2 separate regions of the Homo sapiens genome follow, and region 2 is linked to region 1. Evidence: promoter capture Hi-C in human tissues and cell types (Jung and others, 2019). All regions are on one chromosome and are shown on one strand. The core of a region is centred on a gene start or on the middle of the fragment in contact, and the rest is flanking DNA. Distances in the headings are between cores, read along the strand shown. Region 1 holds the start of VDAC3 (voltage dependent anion channel 3). Region 2 has its middle 26 kb from the start of SMIM19.

Region 1 (7,372 bases), core at 4,795-7,294:
TACCATTTTAATAATGTTTTAAGTGTACAGTGAAGTGGCATTAAGTACAGTCACACTGCTGTGAAAACTTTAATGCTTTTGTGTGCAAAACTGCAAAACTTCTGCTTAGACAATTTCAATATTTGAAAGTACTACCCATTTTTCAAAATAAAGTAGAATGCTATAATTTATCCTTCTTTCCCCCTTTCTATCCTGTCTACCTTTAAGAGTGCTTTCTATCAAACAGTTACTATGAATGAGACTCTGTCTCAAAAAAATAAAATAAAATAAAATACATCCTTTGCCCTAGTTCAGTGCCCTTTAAGTCATATGACAATAAGCAATTAGAAATGGACCTCCTTCTGGGGAAAGCAGACAGCACCTGTCACTGACAATCTATGAACTGTCAAGAAAAAACATTCTGATTGGTCCTGTTTTAGGGAGCATTTCTGAAATCCTGCCAACAGTAATGAGATGCTGCCAACCCTGACCAGTCTTTTTCACTGCCTGCAACATGAATCCTCTCCTTAACAAATGCCCTGTCCCCTAACTCTAGTTCTACAGGCAGATGAGACAACTGGGAAGTTATGTTCTGTTTATCAAACCACACAGAATGGTTTCAAAGAGAGTATCATGCTGCACATTTAGGGGAAGGCCTTAGTAAAAAAAAAATGATAACATGTTAATCATGTTTAACTGTTCACATAATTATTTTAACGTGACAATCATTTTTCTTTTAGTAGATCCAACTATCTAGTGTTTTATTTTTTACATTTACTTTTCACAAACTTGACAAGTATAACAAATGCAAATCTTAATTTTGGTGCTAGAAAAACCTTATGCACAAAATTAAGGTAGAGGGGTAGTCTACATTTCTCCCTTGTCAGCATCAATTCTTAGTTTGAAGGTCTGTCACGAATCTAAAATGCCACAGGTACAAATCTCAGAAAAAAAGGCTAGAATTGTTCTAAGTTGAGTTCCAGGCTCACGATTCACAGTTCAGTTTGTGTCTAATTTCATAATTTGGTCAAACAAGTGCAAAACACATTTATAACATGCATATAACATGCATATAGCTCTACATTAAATGCTTAGTAAGCAACAAAACAAACAAAAATGTTACTGTTAAGTAGATAGCATATGAGAAAAATATCAAGACACAATCTAAGAAATTTGGAACAATGATTGAAATTTATCCTAAATCAATACCAGAAACCAAAAGCAGCCATAAAAACAAGCATACGAATAAGCTTTTTTTTCTTACCATCTGAATGAATATTACCACACAACAGCAGCATGAAAGGGAGATAAAATTTTAGTTGATAATTTTTGCAACACAAACCTAATGAGCAAATTCTGGAACCTACACAAAATGAGAATGATTCTTCTATTTTAACAGAACTATATACACAGCGTGCCCATCTTAGTAAGGGAGGTGCATATATATTTATTTACTCCAGAGAAACCCAGGGAAAGAATGATGGTCACAAACCATGATTATACACAGTATCATTAGAATTCCACATGTCTTTGTCCTTCTAATTATACATTCAGAAATAAAATTTTCATGGGTTTGAATGGATAAATACCAAAAACGATGCAGCCAATGAGGAGAAATCAGAGTAAGGTAAATTAAAACTTAACCTACTTGCTGAGATTTATTAAATAAAAGCAATTTTTTCTGAGACGGAGTCTTGCACTGTTGCCCAGGCTGGATGGAGTACAGTGGCACGATCTCTGCTCACTGCAACCTCTGCCTCCTGGGTTCATGCCATTCTCCTGCCTCAGCCTCCCAAGTAGCCAGGACTACAGGCACCCGTCATCAGGTCTGGCTAATTTTTTTGTATTTTTAGTAGAGACGGGGTTTCACCATATTAGCCAGGATGGTCTCAATCTCCTGACCTCGTGATCCGCCCGCCTTGGCCTCCCAAAGTGCTGGGATCACAGGCGTGAGCCACCGCACCTGGCCTTTTTTTTTTTTTTTTTAAGACAAAGTCTCACTCTGTCACCCAGGCTGGAGTGCAATGGCTTGGTCTCGGCTCACTGAAACCTCCACCTCCCAGGTTCAAGAGATTCTCCCGCCTCAGCCTCCCGAGTAGCTGGGACTATGTGCGTGCCACCACACCCAGCTAATTTTTGGTATATTTTTAGTAGAGACGGGGTTTCAGAATGTTGACCAGGCTGGTCTCGAACTCCTGACCTCATGACCCGCCCACCTCGGCCTCCCAAAGTGCTGGGATTACAGGTGTGAGCCGCTGCACCCAGCCAAAAGCTATTGTTAATGATACTTTGAAAATATGCCAACATAGCCTTTACTGTAGTCTTTACTTCCAATAAAAAAAACTTTATAAACATCAGTTAAAAACTGTAGAATAATGTACATGCATACGTGCAGAAATACATTTTATTTACATATTTTGTTTCGACTAATCATGAAGGGGCAGAGTAAAGTTAATTTGTTTTTGTAAAAGGGTAATAAAATTTCCATGAACCCATTATCATGGAAGTGAGGTTTTTGGTGCCCATATACATATTCATGAAAGTATAAACATATGACATGGGTCAAAAAATATATATTCTACATCTTCTGAGTGAAAGCTGTAGTATACTCTGAGAAACACAAAAGGTCTCTTCAAAAATTCAACTTGGTTGTTTATTTTAATTGGCTAAGAATGCTGTTTAAAATCTGAGAGGACAAAGCTGTGGGGAAGACAGCATGGTGCTGGTTCAAGTAACTAGACTGTCATGATTTTAAACAGATTCCTTTAAGTTAATTATGTTACATTCATTAAAAATATATTAGATACTCACCACTCCACTACAAGACTTGGTTTTCAGGTCTATCTTGACCATGCCAAAGCCTATACACACACACACACAAAAACACAGTAATGTACAAAATGTGACATTCACTAGTTTTTGCAACTCAGAAATTATGAAATAGCCTATAGTACCTTCCATATGAAAAATGCATAGTATTTTCATTGGGTGAGAGTTCCTCAAGAAACTGAATTATAACCAAATAAATGCAGTATAATTTTCAAGCACTCAAAATGAATAAAGATATACTTTTAAAATGTAAGTTAAAGAAAAAAATAAATGAAAGGAATATGCACTATTCCAAGAATCAAAATTGCTGAAAATAGTGTGCTGCTATATATATCGTTTAAAATATAGTTAACATTACTAGTTAATAAGAAAAAATCAAATATGTACAGCACATAAATTTAAGTTAAATTTTAAAACCTAAAAAATATTTATTTAGGATCAGAATATACATTACTCCAAAGAAGTCAAAAGTTATGTTGTCACTTTCATAAAAACAATGCCACTGTTTGGAGGGAGGAAAAGTTCTACCCCCTAATTTAATTGTCCTCAGGGCCAGACAAAGAGACATAAATGTTATATATATTATTCTACATTCCAGATAACATTAAATATGGACATGTATATGCATCTGTATATGTATATAATTGCTTTTAATGCTTGTAAGGGGTTCTGCCTCTAAAGAATGAGGTCTAATAGCCTGTTAATAGTTATCCCCTTAAATCTTGTGAAGTGGAATAATGCTGACTTACCCTTATTTTACTAACACAGTATTTACACACAGTAGGCATTCAACACTAACCTTTACCCCAAACTGGAAAGTTACAATAGCATACTTACCATATCCTTTGTTGAAGACATCCTTAGCAGCCTTTCCTAGGTCACAGTACGTTGGTGTGTTACACATATCTTATAAAGAAAAACAGGGCAAAGGAATAAAAATAACCATTTAGTATTTATTCACCCACAGTTCTTCTGCTGTTTAATCCTGTGAGAAGGGGTATACAGTTTTCTCTTCCTGTGTATCATTAATGCTTTAATGCAATCAAAGGTATGAGACAGCAGTCTGCTCCTTAAAAAACAGACCTTTCCAGAATACTGAGAATAAAACAGTTTTCCCGTGAGATTCAGAGGTCATCTTTCTGATTGCATTTCAAAGAAAAGTAAGTTCTTACAGGATGAAAAAGATGCTATGTTAAACTGGACTTCTTTTAAAAATATATGCAAAATTTACCTTAGAAAAATCTCTCTCAGGCTCTTATGAAACCAAAGACCTGTATAAGACAACAATGGAAATTTTTAAAGAAACTGTTAAAAGATGCAATCAAAATCCTCAGGGTTAACATTTTTCTCCTCTGAAATTCAGTTCTTAAAATAAGAATTTACCATACGAATTGAAGTGTATTCATCTAGAATATATCTTCTCTCAAAGCTCTTCTTAAAGTGCTATAATTTTACCCATTAACCAGAAATATGACAGATTCTACCTGCAGCAACCTGCTTACCAAAAGTTAGTGTAAACTCTGAAGTTAAAGCCTTCAAAAACCTCAGGTGCCTTGATTTTTCATCTTGCCTACTAAAAATCTGCCCAGCTTTGCTACTGGTAATATGACCCTCATATCAAATTCTCAGAGCTATCAACACTGCTGATTATCTCATTCCTTTGCCCTCTTTGTATCATGGGAAATCTTTCTGCAGCAGGTTCTTCTGTATTCCTCTCGCAGACTCAAAAGCTATGTCTAACCAATTACAGAGCCACCTCTAGCAGTGCCATTAGCCCATATGTCAGAAAAATCCAGAGTACCAGCTAGCCCTTGCAATTGCTACGCCTGAATGATCTACACATTTAAGCTCATATTTATTTATATATAGCCCAGCTCTTAATCCAGACTTCTGCTAAGCTTCTGCCTACCCCATCATACCAAACATATACATATGATGCACTTAAATGGGAATGCATTTAAGTTTTGTTCCTTAACATAAACCTGTCAAATATGACAGACACTATGATATAAAGAGACTAGTATAAAAAACTAAAAAGAAAAAAAAATTAAAGAGGAAACGGTAGTATAAATGTACTGACTCATTCCATAGTAAAACTTTGCTCTAAGCTACCAGGTTTCATAATTCACTTACAGAACGATTATTTTACAATTCAATCCCTTGTACTAAAGTGATCAATTCTAGGCTTTTTATATTATCCCAATTGCAATTTGATATTACTCTTTATGATTACAACTGATGTTGATATTTGTTGAAATTTTGCCAGAAGTCTGTAATTTGGGAAGTAAGTATAGAAATGCAGGCAGTATATATTGAAATAGAAATGTTAAAGCTTTACAGTCTGGTTTTTCATACTGCCGAGAAAAGATACACTTAAATGTTTAGAAGCACTATATATACGTCTAGGGACTATTTACAATATTTCAGCATTTTGTTTTGTTATTTTTCAAAACCAGTACGAGATACTATGCAAAAGTCACGTAGCTGGTTTAGTATACTAACTGACCTCAATTCTGCCTAGTTCAAGCTGACTTTTTCAGGCCTATGACTCTGATGGGAAATGCACTGCTAGTATGATCAAGCAAAAATCGAGAACAACAGAAACTTCATGTTCCTCGAGAGTAAAGCTACAACCACACGTCTCCACCAGCTCTACAGAATGCACCTGCCCATAGATGTGCACACTGCACAGAGGCTGCAGGAGACGCAGACGGGGAAAGGCGTTAAGCCGGTTGCTACTGCTTTACAAAGCCACTAACTTGACAGCCAGTACAGAGCCCTTTTCGTTCCTCGCTTCTCCGTTTTGAATTGCACGCAGGGCACCCTCCCTCGGCCGTAAGGAGGGGGCAGGGGCGGGCGGGAGATGGGTGTGGGGTTCGAGGATCCAACTTCCCTAGAACCGATCTCCTTTCTAGCTGACCCCTGGGAGGAAAGTGCGGTCCACACGCCGGCGGGATAGGTCGCTGCCCGCGCCCGGAGGCCACTTGCCCCGCCGTGCTGCGGCTCCATCGCCTGAGGTGGCCCGGGCGGGTCCCGGCGGGAGCGAGCGGCCCCGGCCCCCCGCGCCCCGGTAGCCTGCTCCCTGCCCACAGAGCCTCCGTTAGGCCCGCCTCCCGCCTGGCGCTCTGCTCGGCCGCGGCCCACCGCTCTCCGGGACTGGAGCCCGCGCGGCCTCAGCTCTCCTCACCTCCACCCCGAGGGCCTGTCTCTGCTCCGCCAGGGCAACGCTGAAGGTCTTCAAACCAACGCCGTCCGCGCCTGCGCAGCCTCGCACCCCCAGCCGCGCCTGCGCGCCGCCCCTCCCCGAGAGCGCCTGTGCGCCGGCGTGTCGCGCCACGGTCGCGCGCTTCGGAGCAAGGCGCGGAGACGAACAGCCGGGCCAAGCCAGCACCACCAACTGTCCGGCTCCGCAGCGCGCGTGCGCAGGAGGGCTCGGTGTGGACAGTGAGGTTGACTGGGGGCCCAAGAGGCTGGGGACCGCACCTGTGCCCTTGAGGGGACTCATTCTCGCGAGAATGCGCGAGGTTGCTAGTTAACTGTTGCCATGGGTGCGGCCGCGAAAAGGCCGCAGGGTGCCGGACCCCAGGTTTGAGGCATGCCGCAGGCCGGAGTGTAGTGGCGCGATCTTGGCTCACTGGAGCCTCGACCTCCTGGGCTCAAGCCGTCCTCCTGCCTAAGCCTCCTGAGTAGGAGGGTCCACAGAAGCGCGCCACCACGCCCGGCTAATTTAATTTTTTTTTTTTTTTTTTTTTGGTAAAGACGGGAATCTCCCTATGTTTCCAGGCTGGTCTCGAACTCCACGGCATAAGTGATCCGCCCGCCTGCGCCTACCAGAGTGCTGGGATCACAGGCCTGAGCCCACGCCCAGCCTCTTATGGGAATTTCATTTCAGACTGACCAGACTTCAAGAGTGTCACTCTTAGGTCATCTCGTCTTAAGGATGAGAATACACAGGTCCCCAGGGAGTAAGTGATTGATTCAAGATCCCACAAGTAGTGAGAGATGATAATTCAAAGGGGCAGAGGATGTGGAGGAGAAAAAGCTCTTCTGTAGAGGAGAAGACCAACTAATAAAGGTAGAATAGATGACAGAAATAGAAAATCATCGTCTTGGAACCACCATGATAATAATTGATTCAGGCTGAAATGATCAGTGGACCGTTGAGGATGTTCATATGGTTTCAAAGTATCACCCCCATAGATTACTCACTAAAGAGAAAAGGGTACCTTCACATCAAAGAGACTGATCAAACGGGGGATGGTAGGGACTGACATATGCCCCTGGTGTGAGGCACAGAGAGGGACACAGAGATAATATTCTTGTAAAAGTGTGTAATTTGCCTCTCTTCAGGACGAAACAATCAGGCAAATCCAAACTGAGAGACCTGCAAGACAACTGCCCAGTCTTCAAAAATGTCAGTTTCATGAAAGATTAGGAAAAAGGCTAGTGAACTGCTCTAGGTTAAAGGAAGCAGCCTGTAATCCCAGCACTTTGGGAGGCAGAGGCGGGCGGATCATGAGGTCAGGAGATCGAGACCATCCTGGCTAACACAGTGAAACCCCGC
Region 2 (7,372 bases), core at 1,242-3,741, 180 kb before region 1:
TATAAACTGTGGAAGATGGTGACTCAAATAAATTCAAAACATGATGTTGTGACACTTGGACTACTGTGGTAATTTGCTAAGTCTGAATATAAAAATGGAAAAAGTTAATGTGTAATAAAATCACCTGCACCATGACTACTCTTATCTTTCTTTTTTTTCCTTTCTTTTTTTAATTTGGAGATGGAGTCTCGCTCTGTCGCCAGGCTGGAGTGCAGTGGCAGGATCTTGGCTCACTGCAACACCTGCCTCCCCGGTTCAAGCGATTCTCCTGCCACACCCAGCTAATTTTTGTATTTTTAGTAGAGATGGGGTTTCACCATGTTGGCCAGGCTGGTCTCAATCTCCTGACCTTGTGATCCACCTGCCTTGGCCTCCCAAAGTGCTGGGATTACAGGCGTGAGCCACTGCACCCGGCCTTGGTTTTTGTCAGTCTTAAAATGGGACATAAGATAGGGTTAAACATGTGATTGGTCCACCCAAGATTGCCCAAATACCAACTGGGAAGTTTGTAGGTCACTTGCAACCCCTTTATAGTTCCTTCCCTTTAGAATGCAAATGGATTTGTGTTTGCTGGAATGATCATTAATTGTAGGAGCTTAGAGATGGCAAACCAATTAAAATGCTGGTATAGCAAACTAATTTGGAAAAGCAAATGTGTAACTTGGATTGTTTGCTTTTGCAGTTTTTCCATGTAACCACTTTCATTGGCATGATAAATGGAAAGTTTGTTACTGAACACTTTCAAAGAATAATTATATATATTTTTTAAAAATTTTAACTCCTCGCTGGGTGCAGTGACTCACACCTGTAATCCCTGCGCTTTGGGAGGCCAAGGCGGGTGGATCACCTGAGGTTGACAGTTCAAGACCAGCTTGGCCAACATGGTGAAAACCCATCTCTACTAAAAATACAAAAAATTAGCTGGGCATGGTGGAAGGCACCTGTGATCCCAGCTACTAGGAAGGCTGAGGCAGGAGAATCGCTTGAACTCAGGAAGTGGAGGTTGTAGTGAGCCGAGATCATGCCACTGCACTTCAGCCTGGGCAACGTGGCAAGACTCTATCTCAAAACAAAAACAAAACCTGAAAATTATCTAGAACACTGTGCTCTGGAGTGTTTTGAGGGGAAAATCCTTTCTTCCTTTTTGAGGGGAAAATCCATTCTGCTTTTTGGAGGGTATTAATAGCATAAGTTGTGGAGCTTTACTAACTTTCACAACATGCACTGGACTGCCAGCAAAGAGCTGCAAGAATGGTAGAATCCCTGTTCCTCTCTTTTGTGCTGAGGGGAAGAAGCTATGAGGATGAAGTTATTCCATAGACCTGCTGCTTTCTGAGACAGCATGGCACTGGATTCAACCTGATTTGATTAAGTAAATATTTGTTAAACACCTACTATTGTGTCCGGAATTTATTCCTTCCAGTGAGTTCTAGGTCTCGCTGACTTCAAGAATGAAGCTGCAGACCTTTGTGGTGTTACAGCTCTTAAAGATGGTGCGGACCCAAAGAGTGAGCAGCAGCAAGACTTATTGTGAGGAGCAAAAGAACAAAGCTTTCACAGTGTGGAAGGGGACCCGAGTCGGTTGCCGCTGATGGCTCGGGTGGCCAGCTTTTCTTTCCTTATCTGGCCCCGCCCACATCCTGCTGATTGGTCCATTTTACAGAGTACTGATTGGTCCATTTTACAGAGTACTGATTGGTCCATTTACAATCCTTTATCTAGACACAGAGCACTGATTGGTGCATTTACAATCCTCTAGCTAGACAGAAAAGTTCTCCAAGTCCCCACTCGACCCAGGAAGTACAGCTGGCTTCACCTTTCACTATCTCAAGGTACTACAGTGGATCAAGGAAAAACTTGACATGAGAGGAAAGGAAATAAAGTTTTATTTGTGTGTGTGTTTTTCTAAAACCAGTTCTAAGTTAAAAACATTCGTATATATAGTATTTTACCATATGTTTGTCAGAAACCATCTTTTTATATACCTGCCTTTGTAACACTCCCATTTGCCCCTGGGCAAACATTTTTTCCCTATCTAATCTTCACATTTCTCAACACTGAAAAAGTTCAGGACTGGAAGGGTCACTCACACGTTCACTTTTATTCATGCCTAAGGTGGTGACCAAAAGATTATTATCTGCTGGCCGGGTGCGGTGGCTCACGACTGTAATCCCAGCACTTTAGGAGGCCAAGGCAGGTGGATCACAAGGTCAGGAGTTCAGGACCAGCCTGAACCCCCATCTCTACTAAAAACACAAAAATTAGCCAGGCATGCTGGCAGGTGATGGTAATCCCAGCTACTCGGGAGGCTGAGGCAGAGAACTGCTTGAACCTGGGAGGCAGAGGTTGCAGTTAGCCGAGATTGCACCACTGCACTCCAGCCTGGGTGAGACAGTGAGACTCCATCAAAAAAAAAAAAAAAAAAAGATTATTATCTGCTGTCCTCTTGAGAGGTGAAGCCAGCTGGGCTTCTGGGTCAGGTGGGGACTTGGAGAACTTTTTTGTCTAGCTAAAGGATTGTAAACCCACCAATCAGCACTGTGTGTCTAGCTAAAGGTTTGTAAATGCACCAATCAGCACTCTGTAAAATAGACCAATCAGCGCCCTGTAAAATGGACCAATCAGCACGATGTGGGTGGGGCCAAATAAGGGAATAAAAACTGGCCACCCGAGCCAGCAGTGGCAACCTGCTTGGGTCCCCTTTCATGCTGTGGAAGCTTTGTTCTTTTGCTCTTCACAATAAATCTTGCTGCTGCTCACTCTTTGGGTCTGCATTACCTTTAAGAGCTGTAACACTCACTGCAAAGGTCTGTGGCTTCACTCCTGAAGTCAGTGAGACCACGAAACTACTGGGAGGAACAAACAACTCTGGATGTGCCACCTTTAAAAGCTGTAACGCTCACTGGGAAGGTCTGCAGCTTCACTCCTGAAGTCAGTGAGACCACAAACGCACTGGAAGGAAGAAACTCGACACATCTGAACAACTGAAGGAAAAAACTCCAGACACACCATCTTTAAGAACTGTGACACTCACCATGAGGGTCCGCAGCTTCATTCTTGAAGTCAGCAAGGCCAGGAACCCACCAGAAGGAATCAATACTGGACACATTTTGGCGATCACGAAGGGACTATTGCCTATCGCTAAGCGGTGAGTACCATCAGACCCCTTTCGCTTGCTATTCTGTCCTATTTTTCCTTAGAATTCGGGGGCTAAATACTGGACACCTGTTGGCCAGTTAAAAGTGGCTAGTGTGGCCGCCAGACTAAAGACACAGGTGTCAGGCTTTCTGGGAAAGGGCTCTCTAACAACCCCTGATTCTTTGGAGTTGGGAGTGTTGGTTTGCCTGGAACCAGCTTCTGCTTTTCCTGTACTTCTGGGCTGAGCCTAGGGTCAACAGAGAGGAAAGCCATTCAGTTCCTAGGGTCCTGACAGCAAGTTGTTTGACCCTGCAGCCATGAGTGGAACTCTCAAAGTCACATCGCCCAAGCGAGACTCACCCATCTATCCTATCTATCCTGACCCTTGCCTCCTGGGTCCTAATGCCTGTCAGACAAACTTCCTCTCGCCTCTCTTCTCCAAGGCTAGTCCCACTTCTAAAAACCACTCCCTGTCTCTGGTGCTTTTCTAGTTTCTCCTATAAGAATTATTTCTAGTATAAACTCCAGGACTCTGTTACCTTCTTTAGGCACCCAGTCTCACCAATCAGAAAGATATAATTTTTGCCCAAAGCCCTGTTGGCGGGGGGGGACTATCTTATCTGGAATTTTAGGATCCCTCCTCAGACTAGCAGGCCTAAAAAAAGCTATTCCTGAAGCTAGGATGTGGGGAGCCTCAGAAATTGTATCCTTCCTATTCATATACGTGAGGACAAAAGGCATCACCCTTCCAACTCTGGAGATCCCTTCCCTCTCTCAGGGTATGGCCCTCCACTTCATTTTTGGGGGATAACATCTTTATGGGACACAGGTAAAGTCCCAATACTAACAGGAGAATGCTTAGGACTCTAACAGGTTTTCAAGAATGCATTGGTAAGGGCCACCAAATCCGATTTTTCTCAGTCCTCTTTGCAGCCTAGGAGGACAGGCAAGGGTGCAGGTTTTTGAGAATGCATCAGTAAGAGCCACTAAATCTGATCTGACATTCCTCCGTCCTCCTTATAGTCTAGGAGGAAAACTAGTGTTTCTGCTGCTGTGTCGGTGAGTCCAACTTTTCTGATCAGGAGGGTCCATGGACCATTGCAGGTTCTTGGGCAAGAGGCTGCTGCTGCTGCATCGGTTAGCACAACTATTCCAATCAGCAGGGTCCAGGGACCATTGTGGGTTCTTGGGCAAGAGGTGTTTCTGCTGCTGCCTCAGTGAGTGCAACTATTCCAATCAGCAGGATCCAGGGACCGTTGTGGGTTCTTGGGCAGGGGGAGAAACAAACAAACCAAAACCATGGGCAGTTTTGTCTTTCAGATGGGAAACACTCAGGCAACAACAGGCTCACCCTTGAAATGCATCCTAAGCCATTGGGACCAATTTGACCTGCAAACCCTGAAAAAGAGATGGCTCATTTTTTTCTGCACTATGGCCTGGCCCCAATATTCTCTCTCTGGTGGGGAAAAATGGCCAACTGAGGGAAGCATAAATTATAATACTATCCTGCAGCTTGACATTTTCTGTAAGAAGGAGGGCAAATGGAGTGAAATACCTTATGTCTGAGCTTTCTTTTCATTGAAGGAGAATCCACAAGTATGCAAAGCTTGCAATTTACATCCCACAGGAGGACCTCTCAGCTTACCCCCATATGCTAGCCTCCCTATAGCTCCCCTTCCTATTAATAAGCCTCCTGTAATCTCCCCTGCCCAGAAGGAAACAAGCAAAGAAATCTCCAAAGGACCACAGAAACCCCTGGGCTATCAGTTATGTCCCCTTCAAGCTGTAGGGGGAGGGAATTTGGACCAACCCGGGTACATGTCCCCTTCTCCTTCTCTGATTTAAAGCAGATCAAGGCACACCTGGGGAAGCTTTCAGATGATCCTGATAGGTATGTAGAAGTCCTACAGGGTCTAGGGCAAAATTTCAGTTACACTTGGAGAGATGTCATGCTATTGTTAGATCAAACCCTGGCCTTTAATGAAAAGAATGCGGCTTTAGCTGCAGCCCAAGAGTTTGGAGATACCTGGTATCTTAGTCAAGTAAGTGATAGAATGACAGCCAAAGAAAGGGACAAATTCCCTACCAGTCAGCAAGCTGTCCCCAGTATGGATCCCCACTTGGACCTCAACTCAGATCATAGGGACTGGAGTCACAAACATCTGTTGACCTGTGTTCTAGAAGGAATAAGGAGAATTAGGAAAATGCCCATGAATTATTCAATGATGTCCACCATAACTCAGGGAAAGGAAGAAAATCCTGCCTTCCTCAAGCGGCTATGGGAGGCCTTAAGAAAATATACTCCCCTGTCACCTGACTCTCTTGAGAGTCAATTGATTCTAAAAGATAAGTTTATTACCCATTCAGCTGCAGATAACAGGAGAAAGCTCCAAAAGCAAGCCCTGGGCCCTGAACAAAATCTGGAGGCATTATTAAACCTGGCAACCTTAGTGTTCTATAATAGGGTCCGAGAGGAACAGGCCCAAAAGGAAAAGTGAGATCAGAGAGAGGCCACAGCCTTAGTCATGGCCCTCAGACAAACAAACCTTGGTGGTTCAGAGAGGACAGAAAATGGATCAGGCCAATCACCTGGTAGGGCTTGTTATCAGTGTGGTTTACAAGGACACTTTAAAAAAGATTGTCCAACAAGAAACAAGCCACCCCCTCATCCATGTCCGCTATGCCGAGGCAATCACTGGAAGGCACACTGCCCCAGAGTGAAATGGTTCTCTGGGCCAGAAGCCCTCAACCAGATGATCCAACAACAGGACTGAGAGTGCCTGGGGCAAGTGCCAGCTCATGTCATCAACCTTACTGAGTCCCGGGTATGTTTAACCATTGAGGGCCAGGAAATTGACTTCCTCCTGGACACTGGCATGGCCTTCTCAGTGTTAATCTCCTGTCCTGGATGACTGTCCTCAAGGTCCATTACCATCCAAGGAATCCTAAGACAGCCTATAACCAGGTATTTCTCCCACCTCCTCAGTTGTAATTGGGAGACTTTGCTCTTTTCACATGCCTTTCTTGTTATACCTGAAAGTCCCACACCCTTATTAGGGAGGGATATATTAGCCAAAGCTGGAGCTATTATCTATATGAATAAGAGGAACAAGTTAACCATTTGTTGTCCTCTACTTGAGGAGGGAATCAACCCTGAAATCTGGGCATTGGAAGGACAATTTGGAAGGGCAAAAAATGCCTGCCCAGTCCAAATCAGGCTAAAAGACCCCACCACTTTTCCTTATCAAAGGCAATATCCCTTAAGGCCTGAAGCTCATAAAGGATTACAGGATATTGCTGAACATTTAAAAGCTCAAGGCTTAGTAAGGAAATGCAGCAGTCCCTGAAACACCCCAATTCTAGGAGTACAAAAACCGAACGGTCAGTGGAGACTAGTGCAAGATCTTAGACTCATCAATGACGCAGTAATTCCTCTATATCCAGTTGTACCCAACCCCTATACCCTGCTCTCTCAAATACCAGAGGAAGCAGAATGGTTCACTATTCTGGACCTCAAGGATGCCTTCTTCTGTATTCCCCACACTCTGACTTGCAGTTTCTCTTTGCCTTTGAGGATCCCACAGACCACATGTCCCAACTTACATGGACCTTCTTGCCCCAAGGGATTAGGGATAGCCCTCATCTGTTTGGTCAGGCACTGACCCAAGATCTAGGCCACTTCTCAAGTCCAGGCACTCTGGTCCTTCAGTATGTGGATGATTTACTTTTGGCTACCAGTTCAGAAGCCTCATGCCAGCAGGCTACTCTAGATCTCTTGAACTTTCTAGCTAATCAAGGGTACAAGGCATCTAGGTTGAAGGCCCAGCTTTGCCTACAGCAGGTCTAATATCTAGGCCTAATCTTAGCCAGAGGGACCAGGACCCTCAGGAAGGAATGAATACAGCCTATACTGGCTTATCCTTGCCCTAAGACATTAAAACAGTTGTAGGGGTTCCTTGGAATCACCAGCTTTTGCCAACTATGAATCCCCAGATACAGCAAGATGGCCAGACCACTCTATACTCTAATCAAGGAGACCCAGGGAGCAAATACTCATCTAGTAGAATGGGAACCAGGGGCAGAAAGAGCCTTCAAAACCTTAAAACAGGCCCTAGTACAAGCTCCAGCTTTAAGCCTTCCCACAGGACAAAACTTCTCTTTATACATCACAGAGAGAGAACAGGGATAGCTCTTGGAGTCCTTACTCAGACTTGTGGGACAACCCCACACCAGT

Evidence for each region. Contacts are between HindIII fragments. The study calls those that stand out against the background at their distance.
Region 2: a contact is called between a fragment that was not itself captured here and the fragment with the promoter of VDAC3 in region 1, in 2 of the 25 tissues and cell types used here (IMR-90 fibroblasts and aorta).

Annotation. Positions count from the first base shown.
Region 1 is chr8:42,390,552-42,397,923 of GRCh38, reverse strand. It overlaps VDAC3 (voltage dependent anion channel 3), which reads right to left and starts at 6,044. Exons shown (of 10, transcript NM_005662.7): 1 at 5,996-6,044; 2 at 4,040-4,079; 3 at 3,646-3,714; 4 at 2,791-2,840. The coding sequence starts at 3,712. It also overlaps a transcript of DKK4 not described here. RefSeq lists enhancers at 5,539-6,039, 6,040-6,540 and a silencer at 5,768-6,297. The HindIII fragment of the contact is 12,637 bases long and covers 4,924-7,372 here.
Region 2 is chr8:42,563,526-42,570,897 of GRCh38, reverse strand. No RefSeq gene overlaps it. Among named protein-coding and RNA genes, the nearest start is that of SMIM19, 26 kb to the right of the region's middle. The HindIII fragment of the contact is 4,772 bases long and covers 106-4,877 here.